5 separate regions of the Homo sapiens genome follow, and all the other regions are linked to region 4. The links are contacts of gene promoters, found by promoter capture Hi-C in human tissues and cell types (Jung and others, 2019). All regions are on one chromosome and are shown on one strand. Each heading gives the region's core, a stretch centred on a gene start or on the middle of the fragment in contact. The rest is flanking DNA. Distances are from core to core; before and after follow the strand shown. Region 1 overlaps LOC105379013 (a long non-coding RNA gene). Region 2 overlaps LOC105379013 (a long non-coding RNA gene). Region 3 overlaps LINC02198 (long intergenic non-protein coding RNA 2198). Region 4 holds the start of CD180 (CD180 molecule). Region 5 overlaps LOC105379013 (a long non-coding RNA gene).

Evidence for each region. Contacts are between HindIII fragments. The study calls those that stand out against the background at their distance.
Region 1: a fragment that was not itself captured here is called in contact with the fragment with the promoter of CD180 in region 4 in 1 of the 25 tissues and cell types used here (dorsolateral prefrontal cortex).
Region 2: a fragment that was not itself captured here is called in contact with the fragment with the promoter of CD180 in region 4 in 1 of the 25 tissues and cell types used here (dorsolateral prefrontal cortex).
Region 3: a contact is called between a fragment that was not itself captured here and the fragment with the promoter of CD180 in region 4, in 1 of the 25 tissues and cell types used here (dorsolateral prefrontal cortex).
Region 5: a fragment that was not itself captured here is called in contact with the fragment with the promoter of CD180 in region 4 in 1 of the 25 tissues and cell types used here (dorsolateral prefrontal cortex).

What each region holds. Positions count from the first base shown.
Region 1 is chr5:68,561,815-68,564,514 of GRCh38, forward strand. The region is part of intron 3 of LOC105379013 (a long non-coding RNA gene); the gene reads right to left. All of the region lies in intron 1 of LOC105379011 (a long non-coding RNA gene), which reads right to left. Among named protein-coding and RNA genes, the nearest start is that of PIK3R1, 350 kb to the left of the region's middle. The HindIII fragment of the contact is 3,292 bases long and covers 1-2,700 here.
Region 2 is chr5:68,629,905-68,632,604 of GRCh38, forward strand. The region is part of intron 2 of LOC105379013 (a long non-coding RNA gene); the gene reads right to left. Among named protein-coding and RNA genes, the nearest start is that of LINC02198, 400 kb to the right of the region's middle. The HindIII fragment of the contact is 3,424 bases long and covers 1-2,700 here.
Region 3 is chr5:68,970,294-68,972,993 of GRCh38, forward strand. LINC02198 (long intergenic non-protein coding RNA 2198) reads right to left here. Exons shown (of 4, transcript NR_130778.1): 2 at 1-784. The region is part of intron 1 of LOC107984116 (a long non-coding RNA gene); the gene reads right to left. It also overlaps the pseudogene RN7SKP251. Among named protein-coding and RNA genes, the nearest start is that of LINC02198, 58 kb to the right of the region's middle. The HindIII fragment of the contact is 4,273 bases long and covers 1-2,700 here.
Region 4 is chr5:67,195,362-67,198,061 of GRCh38, forward strand. CD180 (CD180 molecule) reads right to left here and starts at 1,438. Exons shown (of 3, transcript NM_005582.3): 1 at 1,191-1,438. The coding sequence starts at 1,280. RefSeq lists an enhancer at 262-411. The HindIII fragment of the contact is 16,000 bases long and covers 1-2,700 here.
Region 5 is chr5:68,724,173-68,726,872 of GRCh38, forward strand. All of the region lies in intron 2 of LOC105379013 (a long non-coding RNA gene), which reads right to left. Among named protein-coding and RNA genes, the nearest start is that of LINC02198, 300 kb to the right of the region's middle. The HindIII fragment of the contact is 3,096 bases long and covers 1-2,700 here.

The sequences.
Region 1 (2,700 bases), core at 140-2,639, 1.4 Mb after region 4:
TATTTCTTCTGGATAAATACCTAAAAGAAGAATTTCCAGTTCAAAAGTAAAAAAAAATATAAGCTTTTTATTCTTTTTTGCCAAAATACACTCCAAAGATTGTTCTAATCTAAATTTTAACCAGTAGTTTTTTAATGTGGCCTGCTTTTATACACTCTAGCTAATACTAGTTTTATTATTTGGAATTGTTTTCTTTTCCTTTTAATACTTCTTCCCATGTATTTTATTATTTTATTTTATTTTATTTGTTTTTTTGAGACAAGGTCTCACTCTGTCACGCAGGCTGGAGTGCAGTGGTATGATCTCAGCTCACTGCAACCTCCACTTCCTGGGCTCAAGCGATCCTCCCACCTCAGCCCCCCAAGTAGCCATGTATTTTAAAATCAAAAGGGGAAGGACTTTTGCTTCCTTCCATGAAGGAGTAGTAATTGCATGGTCTTTGCACACCCTCCTCCAAAACCCATAAACAACTAGAAAACTAAATGAAATATATAAAATGTCTGTTTTCCAGCATTAGACAAGAGGCAGTGTAGGTCTATGATCCCTGAAAGCATGACTTGCAGCCTGGAAACAATTTCCTAACCTCAGGGCAGGAAAGGGGGCCCATGCAGAGCTTGGCAGTTTCTCTGAATTGAGGAGAGATAGGAGCTCAGAAAGGCTGAGGCAGCTGGAAATTACAGGGCAGCATTCCAGAGAAGGAGGAGCTACACAAAGGAAGAATGCCAGAAACCTGCATAAGAGTCCCATTGAGTGGCTGAATCCAAAACTGCACATGTGTAAGTGAACTCCACAAATCCAGGCAAAGAACAACTGCCGGGGTTTTCTATCGGAACAATTCTCTGAGCTCATTCAGGGCTGAATGACATTCAACGTTTTATTCCTTGGAGTGGAAAGACTCCATTTGAATATCTAGGTATTCAATAAAGACTACAGAAAAGCCAAGCCTTAGTAGTAGGAATAAACTAACACTACAATAAGGCTACTCTAGACCTATCCTAACAAAGCTTAACAATAAGGCTCAAAAGGATAAAACTGATATGCAAGTAACGGCCTGCCAAAGCAAATATCAACACTCTAAAAGACGATAACAAAATCCAAATAGTCAATAATATAACATTCCTAACATCTAACATCCAATAAAAAATTGTTAGATATGCCAAGAAGTAGCAAAATGTGACCCTTAATCATGAGAAAAATAAGCGAATGGAAATAAACCCAAAAGTGGCTAAGAAGTACAATTAGCAGACAAGAACTTTAAAAGAACTACTATCAAAACCCAGCAATTTAAGAGAAAGCAAGGACATAAATAAAGAAGTTGAATATATGAAAAGGAGCCACACAAATGTTCTAGAGTTCAAAAATAACATATCTGAAGTGAAAAAAGATTCACTTAATGGTCTTAACAGCAGATAAGACACTGTAGAAAAAAGGCCAGCAAACTTGAAGATATAGCAATAGAAACTATCCTAAATCAAGCACAGAGAGCAAAAAGGCTGGAAAAAAATGAATGAAACTTTAGTAAGCTGTCAGACAAGCAGTCTAACGTACATGTAATTGGAGTCTCAGATTGAGAGATAAGAGAGGAAGAAGTAAAAAAAAATTTAAAGAAATAATAGTTGAAAATATTCTAAAATTGATAAAAATAATAAGCCTACATGTTCAAAAAGCATGAGAAATGCAGGGCAAACACAAAAAAACACCACACCAAGTGTGATAGCCAACCTTCAAGATGGCTTCCAGTGACCCTCATCTGCAGGTATTCATGCCGTTGTATGGTTTCCTTCCATACAAAATAGTGCTGACCTGTGTGACCAATTGGATATTGTGGAGATAATGGCATGTGACTTCTGAGTCTAGATCACAAAAGGCACTGCAGCTTCTGCCTTGCTTTCTTTTGAATCACTTGTTCTGAGAGAAGCCAGCTACAATGTCATGAAGACACTCAAGCAGCTCTGTGAAGAAGCTCATATGTAAAGAAATTGAGGCCTCCTATCCAAGTCACCATCAACTTGCCAGACACATGAGTGAGCCATCTTGGAAGCAGACCCTGCAGCGTCAGTCAAGCTTTTAGATGACTCCAGGCCCAGTCAACATCTTGACTGAACCTTCATTAGAGACCCACAGCAAAACCAAGTAAGCTACACCTGAATATCAAACCCACAGAAATGGCAAGAGATAAGTGCTCGTTGTTTTAAGCCACTTGACTTTGGGGCATAATACTTTACACAGAAATAATTAGTTGTGTTTCTATTTGCTCATAAAAAAAGAGGAAAACAAAATCAAAAAAAAAAAAAACCCTTAACAATAGCTATGAAACAGCATCTACTGAAAATTACAGAACATTACTAAGAGAAATTAAAGTAGACCTAAATAAATGGAGCTACCTACCGTGTTCACAGAGTAGAGGACACAAGACTATTAAATACCACTTTTTCCCAAATTAATCTATAGGTTCTAGCAATCTTTTCGTAGACACTGATAAGCTCATTCTAAAATGTATATGGAAATGCAATGAACCTAAAATAGCAAAATAAATCTTGAAGTAAGAACAAAGCTGGAGGCCTTATATGCCTTACGTCAAGAATTATTACAAAACTACAGAGCTCAAGATAATGTAGGGTTAGCATAAAAGTAAACATCTAGAAAAATGGAATGGAATACAAAGTCCAGATATGGATCACACATATGTGATCAATTGGC
Region 2 (2,700 bases), core at 107-2,606, 1.4 Mb after region 4:
GAGAGCTGCTACCTTGAAGTTTCATCTACATAACAAGACCACCTTTGCTAGCAAGGATTCCTCTTCCCGTCCCATACATGTTTTGCCACTCACCAAACCCCCATTCTTTCTGGAACTTCAAGATGGTATAAAAGCATCAACCATCTGGACATTTTTTAAGTTCTATTTTATATGACTCCCACACACATTAATAGCTTTGCATACCCTTTCTTCTATTAATCTGTCTTTTGTCAGTTGATTTTTAGCAAATCTTCAGACGGCAAGGGGGAAGTTTTCCATTTGCCCCTATGATAAGAACTGGTTGAAGAAGATGACATAAAAATACAAAACCATAAAAGAAAAAGTGATTAGATGTGACTACATTAATTTTGTTTGTTTATTTTAGCATCTCTATGGCAAAAAGACAACATAAAAATAAAATGTCAAATGATACATGAAAAAAATTGCAACATGTATTGTAGTCTAAGCATTAATGCTCTTAATACCATATACAAAGAGCATTTGCAAATCATTAATATGAAAAAGACCAGTATCTCATTAGAAAAAAATAGGCAAAGGATAGAAAGAGGACATTCACAAAAGAAGACATACAAAGGATGAATAAACAAAGGAAAAATGGTCAACATAACTAGCAAACAAATAAAAGTAAAGTTTCATCAGATGGTCAAAGGTTTTATAAACAGAGGATTTTTGGTGTTTGAGAGGACATGGAAAATGGTATTTTGTATACTGTTGATAGAAACTTTCAGAAGGGCCGCATCTATTTGGTAACATGTACCAAAAACTTAGTGTGCATATTATTTGATCTCATAATTCCATTTTTAGGAATTCATCCTAAGATAAATGTATATAAAAGGATATTTGCAACAGAATTGTTTAAAATAGAAAAAAGTAAAACAAGCTAAAAATCTAGCAATATGTCATTGATTAAAAACAATAATGAATCAATGCCTTAACCATACAGCAGAAAACATACTTTCATTAATTATATATATCATCGAATTATACCTATTGGGAATAGATACCAATCCAGGCAGAGAAACTAGCTTGTGCAAAGGCCCTATAATGGGAAGGGCTCCAACTCCACATGGGTTTTTGCAATCAGTTTTACCTTTGCGGGAGTCTACCCTAAGTTAAGCCTGAAGGTGAAACTTCACTAATCAGGGCCCCTATCTTTTGTGTTCATTGCTATTTGCCAAGTGCTTTGCACAGCCCTGGCACAATACACCTGTTAAACTGCTCTGCATGCCATTTCTATAGAAGTGTTTCTCTGTGGGTATATGGAAGGATGCTCACAAAATGTTAACAGTGGTGACCTCTAAGTTGAAGCGCTTGGGGGATGCTTTCTTCTTTCTATTTTTATGTGTTGCTTGAAATGTTAATGATAACCATGAGTTGGCTTCATAATTAGAAATAATTGCGTTATTGTTCTTTTAAAAGTTTATGAAGAAGAAAAAGATCTGGATGTAACAGAAAGTACCTACTAGCCATTGAATTCAGATATTTTTGGTTTATTTCTTGAACGTAGTCTCTTACACTTCTATCAAAGGCTACAAACAAGGCAGCCACACCTCACTGTCAGTGGCTGAAAAGGCACCTGACACTGACACAGTCTGGGGACAGTCAACAGTATTTGGGCCACATTCAGAGAGAAGCCACCCCCAACCCCAGACCTGCCATGCTGGCTGCCCCTCCATGGAAAGGAATGTTCTTCCCCTCCTTCCACCACCTGGCAGCAACACACCACTTATCCTTTTACTCCTAACTCAGCCTCACCTCCTCTGGAAGCTTCCTCGATCCTGGCGCTTTTCCTCTACGTCCCTGCAATGCTCTCTTCATTCCTCTTGCATCACCATCTCTCTTGGGTTCTAAGTGATCCATTTACTTACCTGTCTCATTCATTCTCATGAGCTCCTTGAAAGCAGGAAGGCTGTTTTACTCTATAGTTAATAGTTTTATGCTATTTGCAGGCCCAGCCTATCACCCAATATATAGCAGAAGCTCAATAAGTACTTGTGAATGAACAAGCAGACAGTAGCAACTTTATCCTCGGCTTTGCCATACAGCTATTACTATGCCCTAAGAAACTTTCCCACACCTCAAGTTCTTTTGTAGCTGGCTTGGCCTAGCCCTCCAGCTGTGTCAGGCACTCTGCAGATATCAATTCACATGACTACATTCCTGGTCTGAGGGATGGAGGTGGTTTACCTCCCAAACATCAGGGAGGTCAAAGGACGCCACCCTTATGTATCCTCTGACTGCCACAAACTCTGTTCAAATAAAAATAAGATGGGAGACCAGTTTAAAGTAAGATCAAAGCTTCTGAGGCTTGTCATGTGTCCAGACACCAAAGCATTCTGAAGGAAAAGGCAGTATTTCTCCAATCCACGTTTTACCAGTGGATAGAAAGCACATGCTGATCCTGATCCTTGCCACCCTGCAAGCAGAACTTTCTCACACATGAAAGGGCTCTGGGTACCCAGCAGTTACATTTTCTTACTGTGAACCCCTCTACCCGTGAGCTTCCAGGTGGGTTTATGCCAAGCAAGCCCTGGGCAGCCCAAGTTATAGAAATGTTACTGGAACAAAGAAGAAAAACAAAAACTGTGAAGTTATGTGTGTTGACAGACTGGCAATGTTTTTATCTGATTCAGTAAGCTTTTCTCTGAGGTTTAGCAGGAATTGCAAATGCTAAGCTGT
Region 3 (2,700 bases), core at 72-2,571, 1.8 Mb after region 4:
CTCCCTGATGGTGCATCCTCAGGCCCCCCAGTGACTACCTTCATGGGGGCTGTTGATGGGTAGGGCCCTTTGCCTCTAGGTTCATTAGCCCCACACTGCTCTCTTCTGAGGTTTCAGTTTTTCTGTCTCTTTCATTCGGGGGCTCACTGTTTCTGCTTCCTTCCACCTTCCCAGCTCCCTTTTCTAATCCATTGCTAATTATCTGCTGGATGTTTGGACCTTGAGAGCTTGTTTGGAGGTTCTAGCAAGCGGGCACAGCTACTTGTATACCCTTGACCAAAGACTGGTCCTCCTCTATCCGGGATGGTCATCCTCTTCAACCAAGCGCACAGATTCAGGAGGGACACACATGGAGCAGTAAGTGGGGAAAGGGACACCCACCTAGCCAGCCAGATCAACTGAATCAACCCTGGTAATCAAGGGGGTGACAGAAGTCACAGCCAGATCACCCTCACATGTATCTGCTGGGTGTTTGGAACCCACTGATCACACTTGTTTTCAGCGCATGCTCAGCGTGGGTTCCGAGGGCCTTTCCCATGAGTAAAATGCCCACGCCTCAGTTCATCAGCTTGATGCTGCCTCTTTTGCTCAGTCTTGTCAGCTCATTTCCTGGTTCTTGCTGTGTTCTAGGCAGATGATTCAAGAGATGTTTTAGACAGTCTCAGTAGAAGCTTTCACTGCATTGGAAGTCATACCTGGGAACTAGACTTAAAATAATAACTCTCCAATGACCCCTGGAGGAACGAGTGGGTGACTTGAGAGGAACACACTGCTGTAGCAAAGACTGGAAATTTCAAAAAAGAAAAAGAAACATAAAGAAAACAGGGAATAAGAGGAAGATTTTTATACTTTCTCTTTTTTTTCCCAGCTAGCTAGTTGCTTTAATTTTTCAAATATTTACTTCCTCACCTCAACCCTGTTCCATAACCTCAACAGAGGGTAAAGTAGACCACCAGAATACATGATGGAAAGTGTAATAAAGAGAGATGAAGATGATTCCAAACATAAGAGTAGGCATTATGTATTCTAATTCGTTCAATCACTTGGACCTAAAAAAAATTCTATTTTGTTTCAGTGACTAAACTGGATAAAAGGGTGAGACTTGTTGCTTATGAAACACACTGCTAGGTTTTCAGAGTTTCACAGAACCCTTCTTTGTGAACACAAAGTTCTGTTTCCAAGTTGTCTCCTCAGTCTTCAGAGCTATTTTTTCATCCATGTTACCAAAACTCCTCATGCTAACTTCGACCTTCATTCACTTAGTAACATTTACCCAGGTCCTGCTACATGCCTGGCACTTCCCAGGGCATAGTCCCAACAGCACTTCCCTCAGCTTTTTGTCCCTCTTTGATTAAAGACAACCAAAAGGCCTCTAGAACTTGTTAGAATTCTTCCTAACAAATGAACATAAATATACAAAAGCGTGTTCATTGCAACACTGTTTAAATAGCAAAATGTTGACAAGAATCTAAATGCTCTAAAATGGGTAATTGATACAATGGAATATGCTGTGCATCTATAGTTATGGACCCGAGAATACAGTCATCTTGTATTAATAAGTGAGAAAAGATACATTTTACAGACAGACAAGTAACTACAGCATAATCGCTTTTATAGAACTCCATATTACTTATAAACATAGAGATGCATTTTTTAGTTAGAAGAATGTACACCAAAATAGGTGACAGAACTGTGAATGATTTTCCTCTCTTTTTGCTTGTCTCTATTTTCTAATGTTGTTTTAAGCAATTATGGATTTTAAAAAATCAACCAACATTTTAAAAAAAAATTTCTCTGATCAAGAGAAACAACTCCATTGCCTTATCAGTCACTGCAAACCTTACTAAAGTATGAGAAAGCCTCTCCTTAAAACCAAGTGCATTAAATCCAAGAGATGGAAACAGAGATGTCAATAATCTGCATCAGGAAAATCCCGAATGTTATGTCACAGAACTACTGGAACTGGTGTGCAGAGAGGATGCAGGCAGAAATACAGTAAGAAAAGAGACAATTCACCAACAAAGCAAATTAAAGAGGCTCAGGTCCCACGTAGACCAGTGGGCAGGGATGAGATACAAAACAGAAAAGAGAGGAATGAGGGTAAGGGGGAAGTTTCTGTAAGAGCAGTTGCTCTGCCTCTTCTCTTCCCACTCTCAGGACATAAGGCTCTGTATAGTACAAATCAAGGCTCGGGGTGAACTCACAGAAATTAATTGAAAGTATACACAGAAAATGATTTCACTCCAAATCTTTCCATCCACTCCTTAGAACATGTCCAGTCAGGCCAGGCGCAGTGGCTCATGCCTGTAATCCCAGCACTCTGGGAGGCTGAGGCAGGCAGATCACCTGAGGTCAGGAGTTTGAGACCAGCCTGACCAATATGGTGAAACCCAATCCCTACTAAAAATACAAAATTAGCCGGCATGGTGGCGCATGCCTGTAATCCCAGCTATTCGGGAGGCTGAGGCAGAAGAATCACTTGAACCCGGGAGGCAGTGGTTGCAGTGAGCCAAGATTGCGCCATTGCACTCCAGCCTGGGCAACAAGAGCGAAACTCCATCTCAAAAAAAGAAAAAAAAAAAAAAAAAGAACATGTCTAATCAAAGGGCTATCTCCAGCTAGGCATGGTGCCTCATGCCTCTAATTCCAGCATTTTGGAAGGCTGAGGCAGGTGGATCAGGAATTCGAGACCAGCCTGGC
Region 4 (2,700 bases), core at 188-2,687:
ATGTGCCACCATGCCCAGCTAATATTTGTATTTTTAGTACAGATGGGGTTTTGCCATGTTGCCCAGACTGGTCTCGAACTCCCAGTCTCAAGGCATACACCCACCTTGGCCTCCCAAAGTGCTGGGATTATAGGCGTGAGCCACCACGCCTGGCCCAGTCTGTGGCATTTGTTATGACAGCCCAAGCAAAGCAACACACACCTTCCCAGCCTTCATTTCTCATTGGCATGATGCCTCCTCTTGGCCTGCTGCTGATTCCATCCTAATGCCAGACCAACAAGGCTCTGCTCACCCAGCTCTGAGCCTTACCCCAGTGCTGGCTTTGCTCTGCTCTTCCTGATCCTCTGATCTCCTTCTAGTCCTGCCCCAGGGCAACTCCACATCTGGCTATTCCTGGCTCTTACTCTTCTTTTTACCTCAACCCAGACCAGCAGCTCACCAAGCCACCAAGACTCATGGTTCCTCCTGTATGCAGCCCTTGTCTGACAGGCCACGTGGTATTGATCACTTGTGGGGTCAGAGAAAGTGGGAGGAAGTTTGAAGCATTTTAGAGGATGGCAAGAGACGGAGGCCCTTCTCCTTTTTCTCTCATTATCCCCTCCAAGAACTTCCCACAGGTTGATAAATATTGCTATGGTCCAAAACAGAAGGTGCAATTTGGCTCTATTCTCAGATTTTCCTCCTATGGGTTAGTAAAACAGATGGAAGGCTGTCCAAGTCCAAGAGAGAGCCAGACTCATTCAGAGTGATCTTTTCAATGCTCGAAAACCTGGCACAGCGCTGTCTTTACTAATTCTCACCCTGAGAGGAGACCAAAGGACTCATTGGGATAGAGGCCATGTGAGAGTGGGGATGTTAAACCAACAGCTCCCCTAGGTTGAGGCAGGTTTAGGGGTCTGCTTTGTGCACACAGACCCTATTAATATCTTATGACCCACTTGGGATTATTTGGGTGGAATTGTTTGAAGAGGAGAAAAATTCTCTTTGCTTCCTATTAAGATGCCACCAGATGATCCCCTGGCAGAGTTCTTTGGCTCCTTTCTCACAATAATGAAAAAATTATATATACACCTTATTTCCTTTTTAAAGACACTAGATATTGGGATGCCAAGGCTCAGATTGGACTGCGTGCTAAATCTCAAAATTTTCAGACAGTTTAATCTGCATAAAGACAAACAGTTTGGACTCACCTCAATGCACATCTGATCCCAGGAGGTGATGACTTTACAGCCGGCAGAAAACAGCACCACCCAAAAGAAGCAGCTGACGTCAAACGCCATCACAGGCTAGGATTGCTTGGTGGGTTTACCTAATGCTTGGAGCTGAGAAATGGAATCAAACTGTGAAGGCCCTGGCAATTTGGCAGCCAGAGAGGTACTCAGAAGGGTGATCTTGGAACAAGAAATGCTGTTGACTGCTCAGCATTCTGTGGCTCTGTGCTGGAAAAAAAAAAAAAAAAAAAAAAGGAAGTCCCTTTTGCATACCACCCATCTTTGCCAAAAATAACTGAGGACCCAACCCCAGAATGGCCCGTTGCATTTCCTGGCACTGAACATGAATCAGTTGTGCAGTCCTTTTGGGCTGATCACACAGACTCTCATTGTGATGGTTCCAATTGACTTTATGCCAACTTCAAGCATTTGGCCAACTCCAACAGCTTCTGGTCCTTTTCCCCGAGAGAGGCTGTGGAAGCTCTACTCACCAAGGAGGCCACTTTCTTAGTTGTCCTAGGTGAGTGAATAGAAGAGGTGTCAGAGAACATGGAAGGGCAGAGCACTCTGCAGGGGCAGACTGAAGAACTGAGCCCTTCAGTGGCACCTGCTGAGCTGGGAACTGGAGCAGGAGGGAGCAGGCTTGAGAGTGTATCTGCTCCTTGAGCCTCAGCTGCTGCCTTGGCCACCTTGTCCATCCCCACCTCTGGTCTTCGTATAGGGGGAAGATTACTTCATCTCTTGACCTGGCGGTTCAGGCTTGTTAAAGCAGTTGGGGTGGACTCTCTTGTTCCCTCCTAACCTGGCCTGGGGAAGTAGGGGACACTGCCATAGATAGAGCAGCCTGGCTAAAGGAGAGTAGAGTTAGGGATGCCAGCCTTGGCTCTATTTCTTCTTAGAAATAGCTTTGAAGCAGGATTACAATTACCCTTATTATGGAGCAAGATGTGGCAATGATTAAAGAAAGCCAAAGTTCAAACATTCCTCAATAGGCTGCATTTAGCTACCTGTTCTGTCTGTTCTTCAACCCTCTGGCATACAGGATATATTTGGTGTTACTGTTCTCCCACTCCATTTCCAAGAGCCCAGTTCTTAGTATCAGAGTTCACAATGACTTAACTACTGCTACTACTACTACTACCACCACCACCACCACCACCACCTCTACAGTATTACTATGATGAATCAAATGACTATAGTATCTGCCATTTATTGAGTCCTTACTATGTGTCAGACACTGGGTCAGGTTTAATGCAGTTTTTTGCTGCATTTTCCTATCCTCGAATATTTCCATATATTCTATAAGAGAGATATTATTATTTCCCTCATTTTATAGATGTAGAAACTGATGCTTAAGAGAAATTAAATGATCTCTCCAAGCCACACAATTAGAGAGTGGTAGATTAGGGCTTCAGATCCAGAAAATCTCACTGCAGAGACTATGCTGCTACTCTTCACAGTTTAAGAAAGGACTTTGCCTCCTGAAGGA
Region 5 (2,700 bases), core at 74-2,573, 1.5 Mb after region 4:
CCTCCCAAGACAGTATAATCAGGATCTCACTTCACAGACAAGAAATTGAAGCCCAGAGGGGTTTAGAGTCTGGTGTCTTCAAATAGAATATGAGCCTTACATCCAGTCAGGGCTTTTCAAATATTTGTAGCAGGCTCTGGGTTTGAGGGGGAAGAAACAGAGAGAATATGACACAACTCTAAAAGCTACATTTTTCTATAGTAGACTCCAAACTAAAGACATTTATCACTTGTCAAAAGTAGACAGTGTCTTGAAATACAATGATTGAAGGGCAAATGCTCTCTGACTTGACAAGAGTCTGTTTATAATTACAGCATTAGGATAGACACACTTTAATTAAAAATCATGAAAAGGACCTTAGCTGTACTGTGAAGCCTCCATTAAAATCCTGGCAGAGGAGCCGCTTTCTGGCCAAGCTTCTATTTTCAGATACCTGCCCTTTATTAAAGGATTTCCTTTAGTCTAAAATTTCTTAGATTTATGCTTTGACTGTTGATGACTTTTTGGCAATATCCAAAAAAGAAGAAACCAAAAAAGTACATCCCTCAAACCTGAACAGATAACATCATTCTATCCCTAGTCCAAGCAGCTGTGGTTGAGGGGCAGAGTAGTAGAGTCCCAGGACTACTGTCCACCTTGCAGGAACTTGGGGAGGGGGTATTATAAGTGGCCCTACAGGCCATTCAGCCCAGCTCTCTAATTTTATACACATGAGGCTCAGGGAGGACAAGTGACTGTCCAGGGCCACCATCCAGTGGTGGGAGACCTGGAACACACCAGTATCCAGTCTAGATGATCACTTTCGGAAGCTGAGCTGCTCAGTCAACTGAAAGAGATGGAATTCTGAAATTTCAAATACCATCACCTATTACTTCCCAGGCTGCACTCCCCAAAGCACCAATCCTGTAGATACTTGGTTTAATAAATAGAAAATAGAGGAAGGAAGGAAAGAAGGCCATCCAGGGCCAACAAACCTGGGACATGTTACATACCATATTTCCTTCTTGAAGATTCACATCACACACTAGGAAACCTGAGAAAGAAGCCCAGCAGAAAAGAAATCTGTTTAACTCAAAACTCTTTTTCCAAGTGACATCTATTAACATCCTGCAGACCTGATGTTCTAGGAAACATACACTGGGACATGCTGGCTTAGTGAGAAGACAAATGAATTTCAAAATAATTGGGCTGGAAAGTAAAGAAATTGAACCAGTCTGGCTCATGTCAAGCAAGAGTTCAGAAATGCTACCATGTCATCTTTATTTTCTTCCCCTGGGTCTTTTTATCCTGGCAACTTGGAAAGAAATGGAGGATAAGGGTGTCCCTGAATAGCAAAGATAAAGAGAATTAACTTTTTAGTTTTCCATTAAAGGTATGTGTAAAAAAGTACACACAGAGACCCTGCCTCTGCCACTCTTCTCCATGGGTATTTAAATTCCTACCAGAAATGTAATGCTTAGAATAGTATTCCTACCTATTTATAACTTCTATATGGTGAACTACCATGACTGTTCCCCCTCAAAGCTGGTAAAGTTACATTTCTACCTCAGAAACTGTGAGGAAATCAAATATGGCCTTTAAATAAACTAATTTGAAAGGTTTGAAAAAATATTAAGAGACTTTAAAAAAGGAATAGGGGACTTGAATATCCCAAAGTGTGAAAATGCCACATTTTTATACTCAAATGATTCAAAATAGATGAACAGAACGCTTCCCAACTTTCCAAAAATATGCACCTTCAGGCAATAAAAAAAATCAATCTAAAGGGTCATTTATTTCCAGAGCCTAAAAGCCCAATTTAGCACTCCAATGAGCCCCCACAGCTGACTGGATATGGGAGACAGGGCTGAAGGAAGGTCATTCACACTCCTCCCTAACTCCTTAATGATATGTTTAGCTGGGCTAATTTTAGACCTGTCGGAAGCTTTTGATTCAGTTAACCATAAGGTGTTGGTAACAAGACTGTGGTCAACAGCAGGCATGGGCTGCACTCTCTTGAAGTCAGTGGGTGAGTTCATTCCTGGAAGGAGGGTGCCAGTAGGTAGTCACAGAGAACTGCTCGTGATCCACATATATCTCCTGGGAGGTCTTTTCTCCCTGCCCTATTTACTCAGCATGGGCAGAAGACTCTGGGACCCATCTGTGGAAGCAACGTATTCTTGATGGCACCCATCTCATTATCATCTTTTCTACTGATCGATTCAAAACTATCTTATCCTTTGACTTGGCTCATAGTTATTTTGGTTTAGGCAGGAAGTAGTAGGCTTCAAGTCAACCTGAATAGGCTAAGTTTGTGATCTTCCGTCAGAGGAAATGCTTTAAGGATGTCAGAGGTGGAGTTGCATCATAGCTATTCAGGGATGGAGGCTCACTAACGCGTCTTTTAACAGGAGCTTCAGCATGGACAAGAAAAGCCTTTTTTTTTTTTTTTCTTGAATTCAGAGATGCCTGTACCTACATCAACTTCCAGAAAAGGCTACCCCTCCAGTTGCTATGTTTCACCTGGTAATAGCCACCCTTTTCTCTACTTTGCTAGATTTTACAGGGGAGTTTTATTACCCTAATTTCTTTAGCCTTGTTACTTTTTGTACCAATCAATTCATATCCTTTCTACTGTCTCAAGGTTTACTATGAATGGATTTTATTTGGTGCTGTGCAATTTTGTTCTACATATGCTCTGTAAAGGTATCTGTAGCAAAG